Linked DNA regions of Homo sapiens: region 1 is linked to region 2. The links are contacts of gene promoters, found by promoter capture Hi-C in blood cells and fetal thymus (Javierre and others, 2016). All regions are on one chromosome and are shown on one strand. The core of a region is centred on a gene start or on the middle of the fragment in contact, and the rest is flanking DNA. Distances in the headings are between cores, read along the strand shown.

Region 1 (7,075 bases), core at 3,283-5,782, 110 kb after region 2:
ATTGCAGACTTGAAATGTGGCTAGTGTGACTGAGGAAGTAGATTTTCAATTTTATTTAATTTTAATAGCCATATGTGGCTACCAAATGGAACAGTGCAGGCTAGCCTAATCAGATAATCTAGCATATTATAAAATAATAATAAAATAGTGAGGCACCGATCTAAAATTAGAAATTAGAAATATGAATCAGTGAATCCGAATGGAGGACAGAAACCCAACTAGATAGAGATATTGAGATTTTAAAAAATATATATGTGGATGTGTATTCATCAAAAACTATTTCAGGCCGGGCGCGGTGGCTCACGCCTGTAATCCCAGCACTTTGGGAGGCCGAGGCAGGTGGATCACGAGATCAGGAGTTCAAGACCAGCCTGGCCAAGATGGTGAAACCCCGTCTCTACTAAAAATACAAAAAATTAGCTGGGCGTGGTGGCATGCGTCTGTAATCCCAGCTACTCCAGAGGCTGTGGCAGAGAATTGCTTAAACTTGGAGGGGTGGAGGTTGCAGTGAGCCGAGATGGTGCCACTGCACTCCAGCCTGGGCAACACAGTGAGACTCCATCTCAAAAAAAAAAAAAAAAAAAAAAAAAACTATTTCAAAACAAAGAGATAAGAAAGAATTATGTAATAAAGGACATATTATAACTGAATAGAAATTTGGAACAAAATTAAAGCTGAGTCCAACCAAAATTAACTTTAGCATTAATTTTAAAACCATGGACAGCTAGCAAAAATTTGGTAATGTGTGTCAAGCCAATCATGGAGATGATTTTGCTTCTATTCTAAGGAACTAATCTTAAATGAAAAACATAAGCTCAATGTCTGAAAGTATTTATTTATTCATTGCAGTGTTTCTTATAATAGTGAAAAACCGAAGAATGTGGGAAGACACTTCAACAAAAGGGGAAAGATGATTGTTTACATTGCATTCAGTTATGGGAACTTTACATGGTTGTTAGAAATGAATGCTTGGAAGAAAGTGTATTAAATTAAAAGTTACTTATATAGGCAAGGCACCATGGCTCACGGCTGTAATCCCAGGGCTTTGGGAGGCTCAGGCAAAAGGATGGCTTGAGGCCATGAATCCAACATCAGGCTGGGCAACATAGCAAGACCCTGCCTCTACAAAAAAAATTTTAAAAGTTAGCTGGAAGTGGTGGCATGCATCTGTAGTCCCGGATACCAGAGAGGTTGAAGTGGAAGGATCGCTTGAGTCCAGGATGTGGAGGTTGCAGTGAGCCGTGATGGTGCCATTGCACTCTAGCCTGAGTGAGGGAATGAGACCCCAACTCTTAAAAAAAAAAAAAAAAAAAAAAAAAAAAAGATACTTATATGTTAAAGTATTTTTTTAAAAATCTACTGTTCCATCAGAGGTAAGAGTTTAAAAAAAAATAAAATGAACTAAAAATAAAAGTTAAAAAAAAAAAAAGAACCTGCCCCTTCCCCCTCAAGGGACTGGGGGATTGGAAAAGCCAATAGTGTTACAAATCCACCTTCACGGCTGCCCACATTTCTCCCACGCCTGCAGCGCCCTCTTTGGATTGATATACCGCCCCAGGGACTTTGCTTCCTACATGCTGGGCATCTTCATCTGTAACCTTTTGCTGTACCTGGCCTTTTACATCATCATGAAGGTAAGAGCGGGTGCCGGGAGCGGCTACCTCGGGCCCTCGGGCAGGCGAAGGCGGGGTCGCGTGAGGCCGCATCTGCTTCTCCTCCCACAGCTCCGCAGCTCTGAAAAGGTCCTCCCAGTCCCGCTCTTCTGCATCGTGGCCACCGCTGTGATGTGGGCTGCCGCCCTATATTTTTTCTTCCAGAATCTCAGCAGCTGGGAGGTAAGAGGCCAGTTTTCTTATCCAAAAACAACCTCTCTCTCCAACTTGCCATTTTGGCCTTTCTACCTCCCTCTCTTAATGTGTTTTCACAGTGTCTAAAATGAAAGTTTTCTCTACCAGGGATGGTTTTTAATAGCCGCACACAAATGCACAATAACTGCATGCGTTATCATTCTCAGGGTGGCACTTTATAAATCTGTAAGTACTACAGACATTGCAAACTTGGTCTTCATTGCATGTTGTATTACGACGCTGGTCCCAGTGGATGCTTAACGCGGTCAAAAGCCTTGAGTAGTTCATCTTCTCATCTTTCTCATAATCTCCATCCATCAACAAATACCCAAGCTGAGTGTCATTACATCCAGTCCATAGATAACAGAGCCGAAGCCTAGGAAATTAGTGGTATATCTGAGGCACAGAACAGGAAGAAGTCTTAGCATTCCATCAGAACAGTTACCACAATAGATTTTAGAACATTTCTGTCACTCCGGAAAGAAACCTCATATGCATCAGCATTCACTCCTCATTTCTCGCTAACCCCTTACCCCTAAGCAACTACTAAATCTACCTTTTGTCTCTGTATATTTGCTTATTCTGGACATTTCATGTAAATGGAATCACACAATACACGGCCTTTGTGTCTGGCTTCTTTCACTTAATGTGTCCTAGGTTCAAGCATGCTGTAACATACATAGTACTTCATGTCTATTCATTGCTGAAAAATATTCCGTTGTACTGATATATCACATTTTATCTACCTGCTCATCAGTTGATGGACAGTTGGATTGTTTCTATTTTTGTGTCATTATGAGTGATGCTGCTGTGAATATTTGTGTACAAGTTTTTTCCTTGAGGTAAAATATACATATAAAATTTACCATCGTTACCATTTTAAAATGTGCAGTTCAGTGGTCATAAATACATGTATATTCTTTGGTTTTTCCCCTCATCTCCCTCTCCCCCCACCCTTCCTGGACTCTGGTAACCACCAAACTATTCTCTGTCTTCACGGGATCCACTTTTCTAGCTGCCTCATATGAGTGAGAACATGCAATATTTGTCATTTTGTGCTTCACTTATTTCACTTAACATAATGGCCTCGAGTTCCATACGTGTTGCTGCAAATGGCAGGATTTTATTCTTTTTTATGGCTGAATAGTATTTTATTGTGTTTGTAGGTGTATGTACATTGTCTATGTAGATATGTGTATCATATTGTCTTTGTCCATACCTCTGTTGATGGGCACTTAGATCGATTCCATATTTTGCCTATTGTGAACAGTGCTGTAATAAACATGGGAGTGCAGATAACTCTTTGACATACTGATTTCTTTTCTTTTGGATATATATCAAGTAGTAGAATTGCTGGATCATATGGTAGCTCTATTTTTTTCTTTCTTTCTTTTTTTTGGGGGGGCGGGGGGACGGGGTCTCCCTCTGTCTCCCAGGCTGGAGTGCAATGGCGCAATCTCGGCTCACTGCAACCTCCACCTCCCAGGTTCAAGTGATTCTCCTGCCTCACCCTCCTGAGTAGCTGGGACTACAGGCGCCCACCACCGTGCCCAGCTAATTTTTTTGTATTTTTAGTAGAGACGGGGTTTCACCATGTTGGCCAGGCTGGTCTCAAACTCCTGACCTTAGGCGATCCACCTGCCTCTGCCTCCCATGGTCCTGGGATTACAGGTGTGAGCCACCACACCCGGCCATAGCTCTATTTTTAGTTTTTTGAGGAACTTCCAAACTGTTCTCCACAGTGGCTGTACTAATTTACATTCCCACCAACAGTGTGTGAGAGTTCCCTTTCCTCCACATCCTCGCCAGCATCTGTTATTGCCTGTCTTTTTGATACGAGCCTTTTTAACAGGGGTAAGATGATATCTCATTGTAGTTTTGATTTGCATTCTCTGATGATCAATGATGTTGAGCACCTTTTCATATGCCTGTTTGCCATTTGTATGTCTTCTTTTGAGAAATGTCTATTCAGATCTTTTGCCCATTTTTAAATTGGATTTTTTTTCCCTTACAGTTCTTTCAGCTCCTTATATATTCTGGTTATTAATTTCTTGTCAGATGGATAGTTTGCAAATATTTTCTCCCATTCTGTGGGTTGTCTCTTCACTTTGTTCGTCATTTCCTTTGCTGTGCAGAAGCTTCGTAGCTTGATGTAATCTCGCTTCTCTATTTTTGCTTTGGTTGCCTGTGCTTTTGAGGTCTTTGTGTACAGGTTTTTGTGTGGATGGATGTTTTCTTGGAAGCTAACTTTTCGAACCAGACATCTAGTAGCGTTTTTGTGGCTTTCTGGACGTTCAACTCTTTGAACAGTTGAACTGTGGGAATCTTGCCCATGTCCTGCCTCACCTTCCTCCAGGGAACTCCGGCCGAATCCCGGGAGAAGAACCGCGAGTGCATTCTGCTGGATTTCTTCGATGACCATGACATCTGGCACTTCCTCTCTGCTACTGCTCTGTTTTTCTCATTCTTGGTGAGTTCATATCTATCTTTTTGTGACTTTCTTCTCTCTTTACATCTTGTACTCTCTTTTTCTTCTGCTCTTCCTTACTTTTTTTTATATTCCTCTCTAATTTTACTTTCCATTTCCTCCTTGTAATTCAATGTACAGACCATCTTATTTCTTTCATAAATTTTATATCCTTTGGTTAGATCTTTAGTTTTTCTTTTACTCTTCAATATCTTTAGACACAGAGGGACAAAATTACTTTCCCTAAGTTGCACAGCACGTTTGTTCTGAATTGGTTATTAGACCCACATGCCCAGAATTCCCCCAGGAACCACTTTTAGCAATTCCGATAACATTGGGTTATTCCTTCTTATGCCATACTCACATTCCTCCTCCTCCTCCTCCTCCTCCAGTCTCCCTGAATATTTCACAAATATTTTACATATTCCTTAAGTGGCTTGGGGTAGCAGCCACGTGTCTGTTGCCTTCTGACCAGTCTGTCCCAAATCTCTCCTGTAGTTTCTCTATTTTTTTGCCCCAACCCTTTCTCAGAAGCCATGAGTATTTATATCAACCCTGGATTATAGTTCCATCCTTTAATCCTAACTTTGATTTTTCCCAATTAAAAGTCCATGGTGCCTGTAGGCAGGTTCAATTGACAATTAACAACCCTACTAGACTCCCGGGCTCCAGACCTACTAGATGCCCGGGCTCCACGCAAAGCGGGCTCAGGCAGGCCATATGACTTCAAGAGTGGAGCAGGGCTATCCTCTAGTGGCCAGTTTGGGAAGCTTGGCCAATCTGTATAAACAGTCCTTACGTCTTTTACTTTTGATCGTCACCTTCATGAGAGAGACAGAGACAGCAAAAGTGGAACTAAAGATTCCACGTGGGGCAGTAGTAGTCAAATGAACTAGAAATGGAGGAGGAGGGTACATTTCTTATATAGCAATACTCTATCCAACAGGACTTTATTCCTTTGACTCTTGACCTAAATGTCCCCTAAGTAATGACTTCCCAGGCCACCCTATCAAAATTTTTTACCTCCCCACACCTGATACTTCCTGTATTTCCTCCCTTATTTAACTTCTATCCTTAGCACTTATTACTATCTAACATGCTATATTTTACTCATGTATTTGTTTCACGTCTAAAGCCCTCTTTAGAATGTAAGCTACATGGAGAATAGGGATTTTTGTCTCTTTCATTACCAACTATATCTCCATAGCATCTGGAATAGCACATCATAAACCTTCATGAATATTTAATTGACAAATGAATTGTATAATTATAATAAGTGCCTATTAAGAGCAAAGGATTGCAGAGAGCTGCAGAAGGCATGAGAATGAGAGGGAACTAACAGTTTCCAGTCTGTGTGCATCTCAGAGAGAAAACAGGACTTAGTGTGACAGTGACTGTCCATTCCTTTCATTTCTCTGTCCCTCTCACTTCAGGTTTTGTTAACTTTGGATGATGACCTTGATGTGGTTCGGAGAGACCAGATCCCTGTCTTCTGAACCTCCAACATTAAGAGAGGGGAGGGAGCGATCAATCTTGGTGCTGTTTCACAAAAATTACAGTGACCACAGCAAAGTAACCACTGCCAGATGCTCCACTCACCCTCTGTAGAGCCAACTCTGCATTCACACAGGAAGGAGAGGGGCTGCGGGAGATTTAAACCTGCAAGAAAGGAGGCAGAAGGGGAGCCATGTTTTGAGGACAGACGCAAACCTGAGGAGCTGAGAAACACTTGCTCCTTCCATCTGCAGCTTTGGGAGTGCAACAGGGATAGGCACTGCATCCAAGTCAACTCACCATCTTGGGGTCCCTCCCACCCTCACGGAGACTTGCCAGCAATGGCAGAATGCTGCTGCACACTTCCCTCCAGTTGTCACCCTGCCCAGAAAGGCCAGCAGCTTGGACTTCCTGCCCAGAAACTGTGTTGGCCCCCTTCACACCTCTGCAACACCTGCTGCTCCAGCAAGAGGATGTGATTCTTTAGAATATGGCGGGGAGGTGACCCCAGGCCCTGCCCTACTGGGATAGATGTTTTAATGGCACCAGCTAGTCACCTCCCAGAAGAAACTCTGTATATTTCCCCCAGGTTTCTGATGCCATCAGAAGGGCTCAGGAGTGGGGTTTGTCACACATTCCTCTTAACAAGTAACTGTCACTGGGACCGAGTCCTGGGTGCTTACATATTCCTTCGTGTCTTCATCTCACTGACCTGTGTGGACCTCATCACTCTGACTCTGCCTTCTTGGAAAGGCCCTGTCACTCCACAGATGTCTGGCCAGCTTCAAGGCAGAAGGAAAAACAGGAAAAGCTCTTTTAACAGCAGCAGGAACAAGAGAAATGACTAACCATACTAAAAGACTGGTAACAGCAGCAGCAGCCAGACAGGCCTCACCTTAAGGACTTGGGCTGCCAGAGCAAATTCAGCAGAGCTTATTTGGCCTCCCATTCACACAGCTCAGTTCTGTGCCCACATCACCTTTGGGGAAGAAATCAGCATTCTAATCAGGGACACTACTTCAGGAGTCCTCCACAGCGAGTCCGTCATCTGTCACTTTATGTAGATCAGGGTTCTAGACTTCTTCCCTGAGGTTCTCAGAAGCAGCTCTCAGGATGAACGTATTGTCCTCTTCCCCTCTTCTTGCAAAGTGCACAGCTAATCTAATGTTGTCTCTCGGTTGCACCTGACATTCTCTCCCCAGTAAGGTGTTGGCAAGCTCAGCATCTGGGTTCCACTCTCACACTGTCTGGCAGCTCTGTGTCTGAG
Region 2 (7,456 bases), core at 496-2,995:
TTAAAATAAACAAACAAAAACAAAACAAAAACACCAAATGCTCATTTCTAACTACCTACTATATACATCTCCCAAATATCACAAATACAGTATATCAAAATACAGCTCATCATCATACCCCAAATCTCTACTTGCTGATATATAACTGGTTGACTCGATAAATATGTTCAATTAAGCTGAATTTACAGAATTACAATCCTAGTTGCTCCAATTTAAAACCTCAGCATCACCTCTGTTCCTTATCTCTTAGTGAATCAGATAACAGAATCTATTAACTTTTTCCCTAAAAATCTCTCTTGCCCGCTCTTCTCCATCTCTACTAAAAATATTTTTGTTCAGGCTCTCATTATTCTAATTAGTCTCCCTTTCACTCTTCACTCACTGACTTCATCATCCATCTATTAATGTAACTAATATTTTGAAGCACCATCTAAAAGCGAGGCACCAGATATAACAAGAAAGTAGAATAGTCTATGCCCTTGCAGAGTTAAGAGTTTCTAAGAGGACCGCAATTAAACAAGTATTTACAACAAAAGGGCAGCATGGGAAGTAAATTCTGTGTGCCATGAAAGTACCTAACTAACTCTATGCAGTAAGTAAAAGCTTCTCCTCTCTGTAATACCCCCAAAAATGTTTGCACTGAGAGCTAAAATACGAATAAAAGTTAGAAGCAGGGGAAAGAATATTCCAGGCAAGGGAAAATGCATTTACGAAGAGTTTGAGAAGTTCAGTTCAATTAACAAAGATCTGAGAGGGTGAGAGGTTAAAGGAAGAAAGGCAGACAGCAGATTGTAGTCTTGTGAGCCACAGCAATCTGAACACCTAAGACCATAGGAAACCACTGAAGAATTTTAAAAGGGATAGTTATGACTGGACTTAGTAAATCCACTCTGACTGGTGTGGAAAACTGATCAAAGAGAAACAAGAACTCTTTCCAAACACTGTTGAATCAATCCTACCTAAATACATGGATAGAGAATAGATCTGAACCCTTTACCTACTTCCTCTAGATTCGGATGGCTCCCCACTGTCAAAAGCAATCCAACTCAGCTTGGCATTCAGACCCTCTCCCCCATATGGCCCGGCTGACTTTTCTTTCCAGTGTTCTCTCACATCTCCCGCAAATCCTAAAACCAAGCTCTCGCCTCACACACAGTTGCAACCATTCTTTTCCCTCTGCTTGGAACACTCATTAGGCTCACTCTCTTCTCTACTGGGTTAACTTCCACGGACTCCTCAAAACTCACAGGAGGAGCCTTCTGAGAAGCCCCTCTGACATCCATCGATTTAAATGACGCTCCCGGTCCCAAAGCACCCTGGATAGTTTGCCTCTCTCCTGCTACACGGTGAACTCCCCCAACGCTACAATCGAGCACCCCCAATTACCAGCTCTGTGCAAAAGCTCCCGAAAGCGGTGCGCACGCGCATACTCGAGGTGCTCTGGCGCCACGCACAAACATACCCAGACACGCACCCTGACACGTACTTGCACTCTCAAAACACAGAGCCGCGGCTGCGCTTCCTGAAGTAAGGATTCCCCAACCGGGCGCCTGGATCCCAGGCAACAGACAGATGCCACCACCGTTCTCCCCACCCTTTTGGTAGCCCTGGTCCCTAAGGCTCGTTGGGACTGCGAGCTGCAAGCCTCAGATCCATCATCTCAACCTGCCTTGCAGTCGGTCCCGACTGCCGCCGCCACCGCAGCTAAAACTTCAGGCGCCGGAACCGCGGAGCGCGCCACAGGTTAACCCAGCCAGCGGCTTCCGGGCTGTTGCCTGGGTTACCAGAGCTCCGCCCCACGCCCTTGCGTATATCCGGCGAGCCCAGTGCGCAGGCGCCTCCCAAAGCCTATCTCGGGTCCTGAGTCTAAGGGAGAGAGGTTCCTCTGCAAGGTTCAGGGCAAATTATTAAAGAATAGGTATATAGCAGGCCGGGCGCGGTGGCTGACGCCTGTAATCCCAGCACTTTGGGAGGCCGAGGCAGGCGGATCACGAGGTCAGGAGATCGAGACCATCCTGGCTAACACGGTGAAACCCCGTCTCTACTAAAAATACAAAAAATTACCCGGGCCAGGTGGCGGGCGCCTGTAGTCCCAGCTACTCGGGAGGCTGAGGCAGGAGAATGGCGTGAACCTGGGAGGTGGAGGTTGCAGTGAGCCGACATGGCGCCACTGCAGTCCGGCCTGGGCGAAAGAGCGAGACTCCGTCTCAAAAAAAAAAAAAAAAAAAAAAGAATAGGCATATAGCATTAGCCGGTGCCTCGAGAATTCTCCAAAAGAAAGATGTTGCTCTCCTCACCAGACTTCACATATCACTTAATTTGCTTTCATCTCTATTCATTTGTTTACAAATCTTTAGTAGTGGAATCCCAGCACTTTTGGAGACAGAAGCAGAAGGATTGCTTAAGCTCAGGAGTTTGAGACAAGCATGGGCAAGATGGCGAAACCCCGTCTCTACGAAAAATTAAAAAATTAGCTGGGCGTGGGAACACGCCTGTAGTTCCAGCTACTCAGGAAGCTGAGGTGCGAGGATCGCTTGAGCCAAGGAGGGCAAAGCTGTAGTGAGCCACAGTCATACCACTTCACTCCAGCCTGGACGACAAAGCAAGACCTTGTCTCAAAAAAAAAAAAAAAAGTTGTTTATTACAACCTACAAATGTGCGGGAGAGCTAGGTTCTATGGGGCTAAAAACAGGCAAGGTGGGAAACTTACAGCATATTAACAGACAGTTATCAATGACAAAAACATTAAAATTATGACGAGTGCTAAGAAGGAAGCACTCTAACCAAATACTTAGCTTATTATTATAGTAATATTTGAATTACTCAGGAAAGCTCAGACATGAATAGGCCAGTGGGGAAGGGGAAAGCATTCCTGCAGAGGGAGCTGCATGTGCAAAGATGTGGAAAATGCAAGGGACAGGAAGAGGTCCAGTGTGTCTGAAGTTTAGAGAACAGTGGGAACTTGCTGTGAAGGGGAGGCGCCCTGATAGGCTGGATCCACGACAGTCAGAGCTGCGTGGACCACGTTAAGAACTTTACAAAGCACTTGATTCAAAAACAGAGTTTATTTGCTCTGGTAAGACAATTTCCTCTAGCCCCTTGCTTTCTGCTGTTACAATACACCCATGTGTGGTCTGCAAATACATGCCCAAAACCTTCTAGAGGAAAGGTACTGCCTTTAATAGTTTTCACTCTGATTGAGGAAGTTTGATGTAGATATATTTAATAATCAACAATCATCCACTTGCTTGCATCCTCAACTCCCTGCCCCTCTCTAAATTGCTGTAATCACTTGGCAAAATGACCATATTAGCCATCCCTACTTTACACTTACTAAGTGCTTGCACCCATGCAGCTGAATCTGAAAAAAAACACCCAATCATGCTGACTTTAAATTCATGATTACTGATGTTAAGTAGGACCTTAAAGATGCTTGAACATCTCATTACAGGTCCCTGTTCATTGATTTTCCTACATATTAGTTTTATACCTTCATTCATACCCAATGCCTTGTCTCCTATCCTCATTCTCACACAATGACCTTGCTTCCTACTGCATTGATTACACTGAATTATTCAAAAGAGAACTTCCCTAAGCTCCCATCATTATTTTAATCCTTCTGTCACTATCTTTACCCACAGACCTGCCTTCAGAAGCTCAGCATAAGAAATATGAAGAAAGCTAATCAAAATACTTCATAATCAAATTGCTCAGAACGAGTGATAAAAGAATCTTAAAAGCATCCAAGGAAAAAAATACATGTCGTATACAGCAGAACAAAACTAAGGATTACATCAGTTTCTCATTAGAATCAAAACAAGCAAGAAGACAGAATAACAGTTCAAACATATTCAAAGAAAAAAAGCTATCAACCTAGAATCCTTATACTATTCCTTTTTTTTTTTTTTTTAAGACAAAGTCTCACTCTGTCACCCAGGCTGGAGTGCAGTGGCACGATCTCGGCTCACTGCAACCTCCACCTCCCAGGTTCAAACAATTCTCCTGCCTTAGCCTCCGGAGTAACTGGGACTACAGGAACACACCACCATACTCAGCTAATTTTTGTATTTTTAATAGAGACGGGGTTTCTCCATGTTGGTCAGGCTAGTCTTGAATTCCTGACCTCAGGTGATCTGCCCGCCTTGGCCTCCCAAAGTGCTGGGATTACAGGTGTGAGTCACCGCGCCTGACCCTTATACTATTCCTGATACCACTTAAAGGTAGACTATGATAAAATAAAGATGTATACTATAAACCCTAAAGCCGCCACTAAATAATAAAAGTTATTGTTAAAAGCTTACAAAAGTCATGTAAAGGATAACGAAACAAATACTTGATTAATCTAAAAGTATAAAACAAGAAAAAACAAAGAAAAGAGAGAAGTAGGAAAGAAATTGCAAGATGATAGACTCATAAATCATATTAAATGTAAATTGTCTAAACACACTGAATAAAAGGCAGAGATTGTCAGATTGTCAGAGATTGTTTAAAATCTTGAATTTTTTAAATTGCTGCTTATAAGAAGGGAAACATTAAATATAAAGACACAAATAAGTTTAAAATACAAGGATGGAAAAAAGATATATCATGCTAACACTAGTGAAAATAAAGTGGAGTGACTTTATCAATTTTAAACAAAGTAGAGTTCAGAGCAGAGAATATAACCAGAGATAAAGAAGATCATTTAATAATAATAAAAGAACCATTTAATCAAAAGGTCATAACAATCCTAAACATTTTTGCATCTAATAACAGGACTTAAAAATATATGAAGCAGAAACTGATAGTACTGCAATGCGAAATTGAAAGATCCACAATAGTCAAATATTTCAATGCCCCTTTCTGAATAATTTATAATGCAAATAAGCAGAAAATCAACAAGGTTATAAGAGACTTGAGCAACACTATCAACCATCTTGACCTGATTGACATTTATTAAACACTCCAATAATTGGCAGAATACACATGGTTCTTAAGCATATACAGAAAGTTTAGAAGATGGACAATAATCTGGACCATAAACAAATGTTAACAAATTCAAAAGGATTGAAGTCATGCAAGATACATTCTCTGACCACAATGTAATTAAATTAGAAATCAATAACAGACTGATTCTTGGAAAATCCCTCAAAATTTGGGGAATAAAATACACTTCTAAACAAGCCATTGCTATGGTCTGAATGTGTCCCCACAAACTTTCTATGTGACAATTTGCCAATGTGATAGTATTAAAAGGTGGGGCTTTCAGGAAGGAGGTGATTAGATTATGAAGGCTCTGCTCATCATGAATGGGATTTGTGCCCTTAAAAAAGAGTCTTTTAGGAAGCCTGTTTGTCCCTTTTGCCCGTTTTGCCCTTCTGCTATGTGAAGACACAGGATTCACCTCTTCCACCATATGAGGACACAGAAACCAGACACTAAATTTGTTAGTGCCTTGATCTTGGATTCCCCAGGCTCCAGAACCATGAGAAACAAATTTCTGTTGTTTATAAGTTACCCATTTGAAGGTATTTCATTATGGTAACCCAAATGGACTAAAACAGAAGTTGGTACTGAGAAATGGGGTGCTGCTGTAACGATTACCTAAAAATGTGGAAACAGCTTTGGAACTGGATAATGGAGAAAGGCTGGACTATAAAGGGATGCGATAGTGTGGGCTCAGAAGGAGAGAAGAGCTGTAAAAAAAAAAAAAGCCTCTGTCTTAAGTGGTCATGATCAAAGTGTTGGCAGTGAACGAAATTCTGATGAGGTCTCAGGTGGAAATAAGGAATAAAATATTGGAAACTGGACAATACGCAAACCTGGTTTTTAAGTGGTAAGAACTTGGTTAAATTGTGTTTGTGTCCTAATGTTTTGTGAAAGAAGGAGTCCAATATCCAGTCTTAATAGAAACCTCTCAGATAACTAGAAATAGCGAGGAACTTCCTCGACCTGATTAAGTATATCTACAAAAGACCTACATCTAACGCGATGCATAATGGTGAAAGACTGGATGCTTTCCTCCTTAGATCAGAAAAAGACAAGGATGTCTAGTCTCACCACATCTATTCAACATTGTACTGGAGTTTCTAGTTAGTGCCATCAGACAGGAAAAATAAATAAAAAGCATTCAGATTGAATAGGAAAAATATCTTTATTCCCAGTGGAGTGAATGTCTATGTAAAAAAATTCAATAAAATCTGTAAAAAGAGGCCAGGCGTGGTGGCTCACACCTGTAATCCCAGCACTTTCGGAGATTGGGGCAGGAGGACTGCTTGAGGCCAGGAGTTCGAGACCAGACTGAGCAACATAGCAAGACCTTGTCTCAAAAAAAAAAAAAAAAAAAAAGAATATGTGAAAAGAAAAATGCCATTAAAATTAATAAGTGAATTTAGCAAAGTTGCAGGATACAAGATCAACATACAAATATTGAGTGTAGGCCGGGCTCGGTGGCTTATGCCTGTAATCCCAGCACTTTGGTAGGCTGAGGCAGGCAAATGACTTGAGGTCAAGAGTTCGAGACCAGCCTGGCCAACACGGTGAAACCCCGTCTCTACTAAAAATACAAAAATAAGCCAGGCGTGGTGGTGCATTCCTGTAGTTCCAGCTACTCGGGAGGCTGAGGCAGGAGAATTGTTTGAATCCGGGAGGCGGAGGTTACAGTGAGCCAAGATCGTGCCACTGCACTTCAGCCTGGGCGACAGAGCGAGACCCTTTCTCAAAAAAAAAAAAAAGTATATATTGAGTGTAATTCCATATATTAACAATGAACTATTAGAAATAGAAAATCTTAAATGCATTTTATGACATCAAAAAATTAAATATTTAGACATAAATCTAACAAAAGATATGAAAGCCCTGTACATTAAAAACTGCAAAGTATTGCTGAAAGATATTTTAAAAGACCTAAATATGTAAAGGCATACCTCATTCGTGGGTTGGAAGACTCCATATTGTTAGATGTCACTTACTTCAAACTGATCTCATATATTCAAGTAATCCCAATCAAAACCCCAAAAAGTTTTTTGTAGAAATTGATAAGTTGATTCTGAAATTCATATGAAAATGCAAAGGACCTAGAATAGACAAACAACTCTGAAAAAGAGCAAAATTATGTTACTACAACTACCTAATTTCAACACTTATTATAAAGCTACGGTAATCAAAATAGCATAATATTAATAGAAAAATACACAAATATATCAGTGAAACAGGATAGAGTCCAGAAATAAACTCATGCATATATGGACAACTGATTCTCCTCAAAGGTGCAGGCATAATACAGTGGAGAAAGGGAAGACCATTTGATAAATATTTCTGAAATAATTGTATATAAATATGCAAAATAATGGATCTATATCCTACACCATATGCAAAAAATTAACTAAAAACATGCCATTGACCTAAATGTAAAATCTAAAACCATAGACTCCTAGAAGAAAACACTGGAGAAAATCTGTGGGTTAGGTAAAGATTT

The links. The method cuts DNA at HindIII sites, captures the fragments that hold promoters and counts their contacts. A CHiCAGO score of 5 or more calls a contact.
Region 1: a contact is called between a fragment that was not itself captured here and the fragment with the promoter of SPICE1 in region 2, in 1 of 17 cell types (M0 macrophages). The highest score is 7.5, in M0 macrophages.

Annotation. Positions count from the first base shown.
Region 1 is chr3:113,621,899-113,628,973 of GRCh38, forward strand. It overlaps SIDT1 (SID1 transmembrane family member 1), which reads left to right. Exons shown (of 25, transcript NM_017699.3): 22 at 1,529-1,634; 23 at 1,725-1,835; 24 at 4,204-4,317; 25 at 5,748-7,075. The coding sequence ends at 5,810. It overlaps LOC124909410 (a long non-coding RNA gene), which reads right to left and starts at 1,535. Exons shown (of 2, transcript XR_007096007.1): 1 at 1-1,535. RefSeq lists a silencer at 5,056-5,155. The HindIII fragment of the contact is 1,099 bases long and covers 3,984-5,082 here.
Region 2 is chr3:113,513,411-113,520,866 of GRCh38, forward strand. SPICE1 (spindle and centriole associated protein 1) reads right to left here and starts at 1,746. Exons shown (of 18, transcript NM_144718.4): 1 at 1,487-1,746. SPICE1-CFAP44 (SPICE1-CFAP44 readthrough (NMD candidate)) reads right to left here and starts at 1,746. Exons shown (of 52, transcript NR_183050.1): 1 at 1,487-1,746. RefSeq lists enhancers at 1,433-1,552, 1,613-1,662, 2,369-2,418, 2,929-2,978, 3,039-3,088. The HindIII fragment of the contact is 3,693 bases long and covers 602-4,294 here.